Regions from separate parts of the Homo sapiens genome. Here region 2 is linked to region 1. Evidence: promoter capture Hi-C in human tissues and cell types (Jung and others, 2019). All regions are on one chromosome and are shown on one strand. Each heading gives the region's core, a stretch centred on a gene start or on the middle of the fragment in contact. The rest is flanking DNA. Distances are from core to core; before and after follow the strand shown. Region 1 holds the start of SLC22A16 (solute carrier family 22 member 16). Region 2 overlaps SLC22A16 (solute carrier family 22 member 16).

Region 1 (5,763 bases), core at 2,278-4,777:
ATTGCTTGATTTTCAGATGTTAAATCACTCTTGCATTCTTGTGATAAATCTCATGTGCTCATGATGTACTTGTCCTTTTAAATATAAAGAGACATCCAATTTGCTAAAGTTTTGTTGAGAATTATTGCATCTATGTTCATATAGGTATATTGGTGTATAGTTTTCTTGCCTTGTAAGGTCTTTACCTGGTTTTGATGTCAGAGTAATGCTGGACCATTCAGTGATTTGGGACGTATTCACTCATCTTCAACTTCCTTGAACAGTTTGTGCAGAATCAATATTATTTCTACCTTAAATGTCTGACTCTGGGGCTTTCTTTCTTTTCTTTTTCTTTTTTCTTTTTTTTGAGGCAGGGTCTCACTGTGTCACCCAGGCTGGAGTGCAGTGGCCCAGTCACGGCTCACTGCAGCTTCGACCTTCCAGGCTCAAGTAATCCTCCCACCTCAGCCTCCCAAGTAGCTAGGATAACAGGCGTGCACCATGATGCCTGGCCAAATGTTTTGCATTTTTTATAGAGATGAGGTTTCACCATGTTGCCCAGGCTGGTCTCAAACTCCTTGACTCAGGCGATCCTCCTGCCTCAGCCTCCTAAAGTGTTAGGACTACAGGTGTGAGCCACTGCACGTGGCCAACCCTGGGGTTTTCTTTGTGGAAACATGTGTTAGTCTATTTGCATTGCTATAAAGGAATACCTGAGACTGGATAATTTATAAAGAAAGGAGATTTATTTGGCTCATGGTTCTGTAGGCTGTACATGAAGCATAGTGCCAGCATCTGCTTCTGTTGAGGGCCTCAGGAAGCTTCCAGTCATGGCAGAAGATGAAGCGGTCCCTGAATCACATGGTGAGAGAAGGAACAAGAGAGAAGGAGGAGGAAGTTCCAGACTCTTTCAAACAACCAGATATTGTGTGAACTCATAACTGAGAATTCACTCATTACTGGGGAGGATGGCACCAAGACATTCATGAAGGATCCATGATCCAAACCCCTCCCACCAGGCCCCACCTCCAACATTAGGGACTACATTTCAACACGAGATTTGGAGAGGACAAACATCCAAACTATATCAGAAGGTTTTTAATTGCATATTCAATTTCTTTAATAGATGTAGGCCTATTTTGGTTATCTATTTCTTCTTGAGTGTTGTTAGATTGTATTTTTCAGTAATTTGTCCATTTTATCCATATTGTGACATTTCTATCTGGTGTAATAAGAATAGTGTTCATATCAAAGTTCAATTTCTCCATATCTTTTCCAGGTAACTCTCCCTTTGGTGCTTTGAAGCAATATGGCGTCTTGACTGGCTGCCATGGCCCCCACCTTTCCTCCTAGGCTCAGCCCTTGACATAACTACTCCTCACTACCCTCTCATCTTCCCCCCACCTTGTATCCCTCTAGCATTCCTCACCTGAAGAACTTAGGCTTTCTTAAGTCTCTTTAGTTAGCAGGAAACTATCTAATTTAAAAACCCTCTCCAAGTTGTTTATTACTTAAGGGATTAGTCCTTCCAAGAGTATTTATGTTTCAGAAGAGAATGTCTAGATAGGATTGTGCATAACAAAAATAAGTCAATTTTTAATGGTGTTATTGTAGGCTCTGTGACAAGTAGGGGAGGGAAGCACTTTGGGAAATGGACTCTCCTCTCTTTCAAATATTATTCAAGTACAAGTTTGCGCCTGTTACTCTTCTGCTTTAAGACTGTCTACAGGGAGTTCTCCTTGTCCTTTGGTCAAAGTAAAATGTTCAACACAGCCTTGCAAGATCCTGCCGCTTCTCGGAGCCATCAGACCCACTCTTGATGCTCTGCTCTGGTAGAGCTCTGCCCTGGCCCTCAAACTGTTGGACTTCTCTGAGAAAGCGATAGGTGTGCTCAGATTTTAAGGATGAGGTGGAGAAGTTCAGAGAGAGGGCATTTGCTATGGAACTGAGGCTACCAAAGTGACGAAGAGAATGCATCCCTGTTCTCTAGGAACTCAAGGTTTAGTGGCCTTATAGAGTGGAATAGCACGCCAACAGTGGGGCCAGTGACTGCCAGGCTGACTAGAGAAGGCAACTCTCACTGTGGATATAGTCGGAAACTGGCTTTTCTGCTTCAGCGCTGTGGACCAGCAATTGACCTTTCTTCCCTAAAGTTCATTCACTTGATACCTTCCAGAAGGAAGGTCACCCCCTGCCTGGGTTGGCTATGGGCCAAACCCCTGCCCACTCCAAAGTGTGGCTTGGAATGCCATGGTCTGCTTATTAAAAATCAGATTTCGGGAGGCCAAGGCGGTCGGATCACGACGTCAGGAAATCGAAATCATCCTGGCTAACACGGTGAAACCCCGTCTCTACTAAAAATACAAAATATTAGCCGGACGTGGTGGCGGGCACCTCCCCGCTACTTGGGAGGCTGAGGCAGGAGAATGGTTTGAACCCGGGAGGTGGAGCTTGCAGTGAGCCGAGATTGCACCACTGCACTCCAGCCTGGGCGACAGAGCGAGACTCCGTCTCAAAAAAAAAAAAAAAAAAAAAAAAAAAAAAAAAAAAAAAAATCAGATTCCTGTTCCCCAGGCATCCTGAATCATCAGGGATGGAGTCTCAAAATAAATGTACATTTATTTATTTTTTATTTTTGTATAGACGAGGTGTCGCTATACGTTGCCCAGGCTGGTCTCAAACTCCTTGGCTCCAGCAATCCTCCTGCCTCGGCCTCCCAAAGCACTGGGATTATAGGCCTGAGCCACCACGCCGGCCTAATTGTACTTTTATTTTTTTGAGACGGAGTTTCACTCTTGTTCCTCAGGCTGGAGTGCAATGGCACGATCTTGGCTCACCGCAACCTCCGTCTCCAGGGTTCAAGCGATTCTTCTGCCTCAGCCTCCCGAGTAGCTGGGATTACAGGCATGTGCCACCACGCCCGGCTAATTTTGTATTTTTAGTGGAGACGGGGTTTCTCCATGTTGGTCAGGCTAGTCTTGAACTCCCGACCTCAGGTGATCCGCCCGCCTCGGCCTCCCAAAGTGCTGGGATTACAGGCGTGAGCAAGTGCGCCCGGCCTTAAATGTACCTTTTAAACCAAGTTCTGCAGTAGATTCTTAGGCATTAAAGTTTGAGAGCCATGTTTCTGAGGGGCGTCATGCTGAAGGCTATATATTCTTGCGGCCCCCGGACCGAGCCTAGCCCTTGCATTCCCACCCTGGGCTCTCTCTCAGCGACAACTTTTCCCAGGCGTCGGGGCTTCCCTCGAGCGTGGCGACCCCGCAGACATGGTGCCAAGAGCCAGGGTGGGCGGCGGGGCGGGTGGGAGAGCGGCGGCGCTGGGGGCGAGGGCACCATGCGACCGCGGGCGCCGGGACCACAGCGCGCCGGGAAGGAGGCCGAGGCGGCAGGAAAAAAGCCGAAGATACTTGGGGGGACCGAGGGGCCAAGCGACGGAGGGAGGAACAGAATACAGCCTCGCGCTGGTCCCGAGCACTGGGACGCGCGGGGAGAGCAGGAGGCCGGGCGGGGAGGTTCGGGGCGGGGCGCGCTACCCGCAGTCCCCGGAGCTCGGCTAACTCGGCGCCCAGTGCACGGCCGCACCATGGGGTCCCGCCACTTCGAGGGGATTTATGACCACGTGGGGCACTTCGGCAGGTATGGGGGAGGGGCCCCGCGGCGCCACGCGGGAGGCGGCGCCGAGGGGTCTGTTTCTTTCCGTTGCGGCGGGGTTCTCGCGCGGCGCTCGCGATCCGAAAACATCTCCACTTCCTCCTCACCCCGCGCAGTCGGGACACGGGCGTCCAGACGCCGGCCCCTAGCTGGGCTTCTCCTCTAGGCCTCTGGCAGCGGGACCTGGCATGGTGAGCAGAGGCGCTGGGCTCGCTCGGAGTGCGCCTGTTGCCGGGCAGGAGGGACCTGGTGCGTGCTCTCCGCGGCAGCAGATGCTGGAGGCATCTGGCTGGAGATCTGGCTCGAGGGGCCAGATCTCACTCGTAGGGGGTGCCTGTGCCTGGCCGCCCGTTTCTCTAATCCGCCGCCACTTCCCTAGACGGCTGCTGCCCAGTTCTGCCCTGCGCCTCCGTAGGGCCTCCCTCTGTGCCTGGCAGGTGTTCCCCAGGGACAACCGTTAGTCAGAGTTGGTTGCCGTTTATTAAAACCTAATACGTGCCAGGTACACTGTACCTGGCGCTTACACATAGTTCTTCATTTGATGTTCACCGGGACCCTGCAAAGGAGGTGTTCAAATCCTTATTTTAGTGATTGGGAAACAAGCTGGCGGGGTCAAGGACTCATAGCCAACGCATGGTGGAACCACGTTTAACCTCCGTACACCCTCTTTTCATTTGTCAAATTGATTTAAAAAATTTAAATTATTCATTCGTTCGTTCACTCATGGACAGAGCTCCTCTATCTGACTCAGAGTGTTTTGAGAGGGGAGGTAGCCGGGTGAGGGGCCATGCAGCGTTATGGCCGGAGATTTGGAGCTGCGTCTCGATCCTGGCCTGCTACTTACCTCTGATATGATTCTGGAGATACTTTGTGTGTCAGTTTCCTATCCAGAAAACGGGAATCAGGCTTAGCAAAGAGATGATGTGGTGCTGTTCTTCAAGGTGGAAGGTTGCATGCGTTTTGGTTTTGATTCCCAGTGTCTGCAAAAAGGAGCTGTTAGGACAGAGGAAACGGGCAGGAAGCCCCAGCTGTTCCCTTCTTCCTCTGCTTGCATCATTGAACGCTGCCTTGTGCCTGGCTCGGTCATAAGCCGTTGGTACATGTTACTTCCTTTAATCTTCACTACAGCCTTATAAGGTTGGTAGTATCACCCTCTTTTCACAGATGAGAAAACCAAGGTTTCTGCCTAAGCACAAATCTAATACTAGCAGGGCAGAATTGGATGCCATTGGATGCCCATCACCTCCACAGCCCACACTCTCAACCATGATGCACTCCTGAGCACGGTTAGGTGACGGCTCCTCAGCTGGGCCAAGCTCTTTATGTATGATCTCATTTCATCCTTCTGGAAGCAGAATAGCACAGAGGTTAAAAGATCAGTTTTAAGGCTGGATGTCTAAGTTCCCACTCTGGCGCTACCACACATTAACTATACGGTCTTGAGCATTTTATTTACCACTTTCTTATCTGTAAAATGGGGCTAATAATAGTACAAATGTTTTCAAATAGGAGTAGTGAAAATGTGTATATGAGGACTCTGCATGCAGTTTCTCATCCTTACAGTAACTCAATGAGGTAGGTGGTACTTACATCTTAGTTCCCCTGTGTTTTTTAGGGATTAGCTGAGGTAATTATATTAGTTGGTGTTTGACTAAAGTGCCCAATCAAACAGATTCCTCAAATGGAAGTTTATGCCTCTCCAGTAACTGCCCACAGCAGGATCTGTGCCACGAGACCATTCAAGGACCCTGGCAGGTGGGACAGCTCTGTCATCCACTGCATGGGGCTCCCTGTCTGTGCCTGGAGCAGCTGCGCACCCATGGTGACAGCTCACTACGGTGAAGAGGGGGCAAATGGGTTTGAGGAGACAGCTCTTAGCTGGCCACCATAATGTATGCAAAAGTCTTATTATTCAGTAAGTTCTCAATAAGTCATGGCTATTATCATTACCTGAGTTCCCATATTGGTGGTCAGGGTTGACTCGTGAAAGCAGCTTACAGGAGGGAAAAGGGTAACAAACCACTGCTTATATAGCAGAAGATGAAGACTGTGTGACTGCAACACAGTACCACATTTTTCTCAGGTATTTGTTCTAATTGGTATCTATTCTTTATAAACAGAAAGGAAAGT
Region 2 (5,763 bases), core at 2,299-4,798, 33 kb after region 1:
CTCTCCACTGAACAGCTGGTCTTTTAAAGAAGCCATGGAACTTATGGTTTGCTCAAAATAAATAAAAGAAAAACAATCAATACATAAGCTATTCAAGGTATATAGGTAATGCCTATCTTTTATGAATTGGAGTGGATGTTTAAACTGTTACAACTCTACCTTTCCTCTTCCACTGTGTGACTCTTATTTTTCAGGCTAGGACGCCGGGTGGTCTTGTGGGCCACAAGCAGTAGCATGTTTTTGTTTGGAATAGCAGCGGCGTTTGCAGTTGATTATTACACCTTCATGGCTGCTCGCTTTTTTCTTGCCATGGTGAGTTGTGTTTTTTACTTCTTTAATTCTGCTGCAGTTTTTCATAGGAAACCTTAACTCTCATCATTTTGCTCATTTAAGATCTAGTGAGCGAGATCAAGGACTCATCTTTGTCCACTCCACTGCAGAAGTCTGCCTACAGAATACCAATGCCTTATGTTTAGAATGGAACTCATTAAAGTGAAAAATTGTTGCTGGCTAGGCAGAAGTGTGTTTGCCTCTGTGTCGGGCATGTGGTCCACATGTCACAATTACTGAGGCATTATTTTCTTTCTGAGTAATCATATTGGTCTAGTCAGGGCCTGTTCACATGAGCAAACAGACAGTTGAGGTGTGTGGTTAAAGTCACTTGTATAATGTACAGGAAGAATGAAAACAGGAGGGCATTAGGTCCTTATGTTACCAGGAACGGCAGTTTAGTGGAAAGGGCACGAGTTTGAATACCAGCATTGTCATATATTGGCTTGTTAGTTGTATGATCAGTATCCTCTTTGAACCTTTGGTTGCAGTCTGTAAACTGTAGAAAAGAATCTGTGTTTATTATTATTATTCTCAGGATTCAGTGAGATTAAGTATAAACAACCGCAGTACAGCACCTGATTACAATGGTAACTTACTAGAAATGGACTAGCGAGCAAGGAGGCTGTTTCCATGCTCAGTGAGGCTTCCAGATAGATTTCCAACTATCAAGCAACATCAAGAATAATAGAGGGAAGTTTCCATCTGGAGGAGGAGCTTGTGATCTTGCTAAATGCAGAGCAGCAGGTTGGATGGTCTGAGGGTCTGGAGAGAAGCAAAGGGCTTCAATCTCTCTGCACCCCCTCAGAGAACAAGATGGGGTGTCAGTTTTGGAGTCTTTTTTGATGGATAGAAAGGGTTTCTAGCAAACCATACAGTTGGCCAAGGATAAGGAAGATGCATAAAAATAAATCTAGGAGACTGGAAGGTGTTGTACCTCATTAAAAAGTAAATATATATATTTAGGAATGTAAAGAGTTTTAAATACAAGATAGCAACCAGTAGTTCTGTTTCCACTGAGGACATAACTCTGTGACTGTAGAGTGAGATTTCACGAGAGAAACCTTCTGGTGGGACTGAAGGCTCCACAAAGGCACAGGTACTAAGAAAGTATAAACATCATCTTTTGGAAGACTTAAGAGGATATTTCTGAAAATATCTGTTTCAGTCTTGCAAAATACCACGCGTTGGCTTCTATACCCAAGGAAACAAGGCCACACCCATAGAATACATCCGTGAAATGTGGCCTTAATTTTCTGTGACTGTTTCCGTTGATGTTCATGGGGAATGGATTTGTGGGGGAATTCTGTGGATGGGAGATGCAGGCAGATTCATTTACTCAACACATTTATTGATCTGTCTACAGAGTGTAATGCTAAGTAAACCAGACCCAGCTGTCTCAGTAAGTCTAGTAGGAAAGGCAAGACGTTGATCAGCCATCTTCAAAAATAAATAAAATGTTGACAGTGAGGGCATAACATCAGTGGGTCTGGAGCGTTCACCAGGGTCTGGAGGGTCAAGGGTTTTCTCACTGTGAGGGATGGGTGAGAGAAGAATATTCCAGCAAAGATAGAAGTGGATGAAAGGGCCCTGAGATGAGAAAGAAAAGCCGGAATGTCTGGAGAATAGAGAGGAGGAGAGACGCATTGATGAGGCTGAAGGGATCAAGGCGGTTAGGTGGGGCTTTGTAGGATTGTCAGGATTTTGCTCTATCTCCTAAAGGCAATGGCAATCCACAAAAGGGATTCCAGGAATTCTGGCTGCTATGAGGGGGTGGATTCCGAGAAGATGTGAGTATTATTATCAGTGGAAGGGATGGGTGTGAGTGGATTCACAGAGTGTTTTGGAGTTAGTTGTATATGGATTTTCTGAATCCAATAACAGAGGAAGTTGTAGCTGACTCATGAGAAATAATTAGCATTGAAAAACCTGACAGGGACAAATATTACAGCTTAATTTAACTGGGAAATTTATAGTATTTGAAAGTTATCACAATCTTTGTTAATGTAACAGCAGCGCTTACCAAAAGCGACTTCTGGATTGTTAGATGTAGGGTCCCGATGATCTGAGTCTTGCCATTACAAAGTTGCACAGGGAAATAAAAGCTGTTGTCACAAAAATATTAAACTGATTATGAATACAGTAGTCCTCATCAAGCACCTCCCTGCCTCCTGCTAGTGTCAACCCTTTCTGACAGCAGGAATATCCTTGTAGGCCGGCCTCTTTGTGACTGTCCAATGCAAGGAGAAATTGCAGTTATTACAAGGGACACATGTTTACAAAAAGTCTTTAAAAGCAGTGAGGGAACAGGGGAACACTGCCTGAATCCTGCCCACAACCTTTGGCCAGTGGGGATCTGGCAGAGAGACCTGTTAACTTTTGAAGAAATTAACATCTGCAAGGATAATCACATAATGAGCCTTTGAAAGAGTATGATTCAAATATCTAATGATTAAGAGAAGCCTTTGGGGAGTGGTGCTCTCGAATAATTTTACAAAAGTTAATTGTATGATTTGTGTTGTAGAAGTCAAATATGAAAAAATTTTGTAGAAAAAATTCTTCCCCTCCTCCTCCCAAAAAACCCATCAATGGACTCATTCTTTGTTTATTTCAAGAATGGTCACATATTATATTCTAATCACATATTGTAATCTAATTTTTATTAAAGATAGTCATATTTCCAAAATAAAGTTTTTCCCCAGTTTTCCTTCTTGTGGTAAAGTACATATAACACAAAATTTACCATCCTAACCATTTTTAAGTGTACAGTTGAGTGATATTAAGTGCATTCATACTGTGGTGCAATTATCACCACTGTGCATCTTCAGAACTCGTTTTCATCTTGCAAAACTGAAACTCTGTCCATTGAATAATAACTCTCTGTTCCCTGTCTCCCTAGCCCCTGACAACCACCATTCTACATCCTGTCTCTATGAGTTTGGCCACTCTAGGTACCTCATGAAAGCGGAATCATATGATAGTTGTCTTTTTGTGACTGGCTTATTTCCCTTAGCATAATATTCATTGTATGCATAGACTACATTTTTCTTATCTATTCATCTATGGACGGACCCTTGGGGGGTTGCTTCCATGCTTTAGCTGTTGTGAATAATGCTATGAGCAGGCATGTGCAAACATCTCTTCCAGACCCCACTTTCAATTCCTTTGGGTATATACTCAAAGGTGGAATTGCTGGATCATGCTGTAATTGTTTTTTGAGGAATCGTCATACTGTTTTTCCTAGAGGCTGTGCCATTATACATTTCTCTCACATATTACACATGGGTTCCAGTTTCTCTACATTCCCGCCAAAACTTGTTATTTTTTTTTTTAATTAGCCACACTAATGTGTATGAGGGGGTATCTCTTTGTAGCATTGAATTGCATTTCTCAATGATTGGTAAAAATTTGTATTTCTTCTGTTTGAAATGTCTGTTCAAAGCCTTTGCCCATTTTTGAATTGGATTGTCTGTGTTTTTGCTGTTGTTGGATTTTAGGAGTTCTCCATAAAATCCCTTATCAGATATTTGATTTGCAAATATTTTATCCAGTTCTGCAGGTTGCCTTTTCCCTCCATTGATAGTGTTCTTTGATGCACAGTTTTAATTTTCATGAAGTCTAATTTGTCTTCTTTGCCTGTCAAAATAGAATTTTAATTAAATCAGTTTTTCTTACCACTAGTTAGCGTAAATTTTTTTGTCTCCATTTAGCAGTTAGGATTTAACAATAAGGACCTCCTGGATACAGATAACTTGATGTATGCATTTACAAGGAATGGAGAAATACATCCACAGTATAATGAAATATTTAGATGACACAAAAGACAATGTCTAACATTTATATCATAAATAATCTCTCAAGTTTTGCCATTTGGGGTGGGGAGGATGAGGGAAGATGAAAGGACCTATAAGAAAAAAAGATAGATCGGATTGAATGTCATTTTATACATCTGATAGGGGTTTCAGAAAGCAAGTCTTTGTCATTTTCTTTTTTGCCTATATGTGATTTGCAATGGGGTCAGACTCCTCAATAGTTATAAATGTGACCTTGAATATAAATCCCTATTATTTGTTTTTCAGGTTGCAAGTGGCTATCTTGTGGTGGGGTTTGTCTATGTGATGGAATTCATTGGCATGAAGTCTCGGACATGGGCGTCTGTCCATTTGCATTCCTTTTTTGCAGTTGGAACCCTGCTGGTGGCTTTGACAGGATACTTGGTCAGGACCTGGTGGCTTTACCAGATGATCCTCTCCACAGTGACTGTCCCCTTTATCCTGTGCTGTTGGGTGCTCCCAGAGACACCTTTTTGGCTTCTCTCAGAGGGACGATATGAAGAAGCACAAAAAATAGTTGACATCATGGCCAAGTGGAACAGGGCAAGCTCCTGTAAACTGTCAGAACTTTTATCACTGGACCTACAAGGTCCTGTTAGTAATAGCCCCACTGAAGTTCAGAAGCACAACCTATCATATCTGTTTTATAACTGGAGCATTACGAAAAGGACACTTACCGTTTGGCTAATCTGGTTCACTGGAAGTTTGGGATTCTACTCGTTTTCCTTGAATTCTGTTAACTTAGGAGGCAATGAATACTTAAACCTCTTCCTCCTGGGTAAGTAGTTACAGTATATTTAAATTTGGCAGTGAAGTGAGATTTCTACCATTTGTGTGTGTGTGTCTGTTTCTGTGTGAATTTGAGAAAAAGAATGTTTTTAATAGGCCCTTTAAAACCAGGAACAATACTGCCAACCATATTATTATGATATCTCTTAGTGTTATGTTGTAACACATGTACATATGAGGGGACTTCAACCAGTTCATGGAAAAATGGCATTAAAAGACAAAAATTTAAAACATAAACTTTCTCAACATGATTGCCATCAAGGTCAAGACACTTTTGTACGACATCAGCCATTTATTCCATCCTTAAAAAACTGAGGGTCCTGAGAATGTACCCATGTCAATGCAGTCTTATTTACACTATTAACTGAAGAAAAATGGGTGCCGCGTACAGACTTTTTAAGATTAGGAAACAGAAAGAAGTCAGAATGAGCCACCATGAGAACTGTTAAGGTGGCTGCCTAGTGATTTCCCATCAAAACTCTTGCAAAATTGCCCTTGTTTGATGAGAGGAATGAGCATGCCCATTGTCATGGAGGAGAAGGACTCTCTGGTGATGTTTCCCAGGCATTTTTCTACAAAAGCTTTGGTTAACTCTCTCAAAACACTCTCCTCATAAGCAGATATTTTCATTCTTTGGCCCTCCAGAAAGCTAACAAGCAAAATGCCTTGAGCATCCCCAACAAACGTTGCCATGACCTTTGCTTTCGACTGGTCCACTTTTGCTTTGACAGGACCATGGCCCCCCTTGGTAACCATTGCTTTGGTTGGGCTTTGTCTTCAGGATCAGACTCGTAAAACCGTGTTTCATCTC

Evidence for each region. The method cuts DNA at HindIII sites, captures the fragments that hold promoters and counts their contacts. A contact is called where the count stands out against the background at its distance.
Region 2: a contact is called between a fragment that was not itself captured here and the fragment with the promoter of SLC22A16 in region 1, in 3 of the 25 tissues and cell types used here (IMR-90 fibroblasts, dorsolateral prefrontal cortex and spleen).

What each region holds. Positions count from the first base shown.
Region 1 is chr6:110,474,377-110,480,139 of GRCh38, reverse strand. It overlaps SLC22A16 (solute carrier family 22 member 16), which reads left to right and starts at 3,527. Exons shown (of 8, transcript NM_033125.4): 1 at 3,527-3,618. The coding sequence starts at 3,566. It overlaps LOC105377938 (a long non-coding RNA gene), which reads right to left and starts at 4,623. Exons shown (of 2, transcript XR_942860.3): 1 at 4,478-4,623; 2 at 704-831. The HindIII fragment of the contact is 19,647 bases long and covers 1-5,763 here.
Region 2 is chr6:110,441,422-110,447,184 of GRCh38, reverse strand. It overlaps SLC22A16 (solute carrier family 22 member 16), which reads left to right. Exons shown (of 8, transcript NM_033125.4): 3 at 195-312; 4 at 4,410-4,941. Among named protein-coding and RNA genes, the nearest start is that of DDO, 29 kb to the right of the region's middle. The HindIII fragment of the contact is 6,907 bases long and covers 95-5,763 here.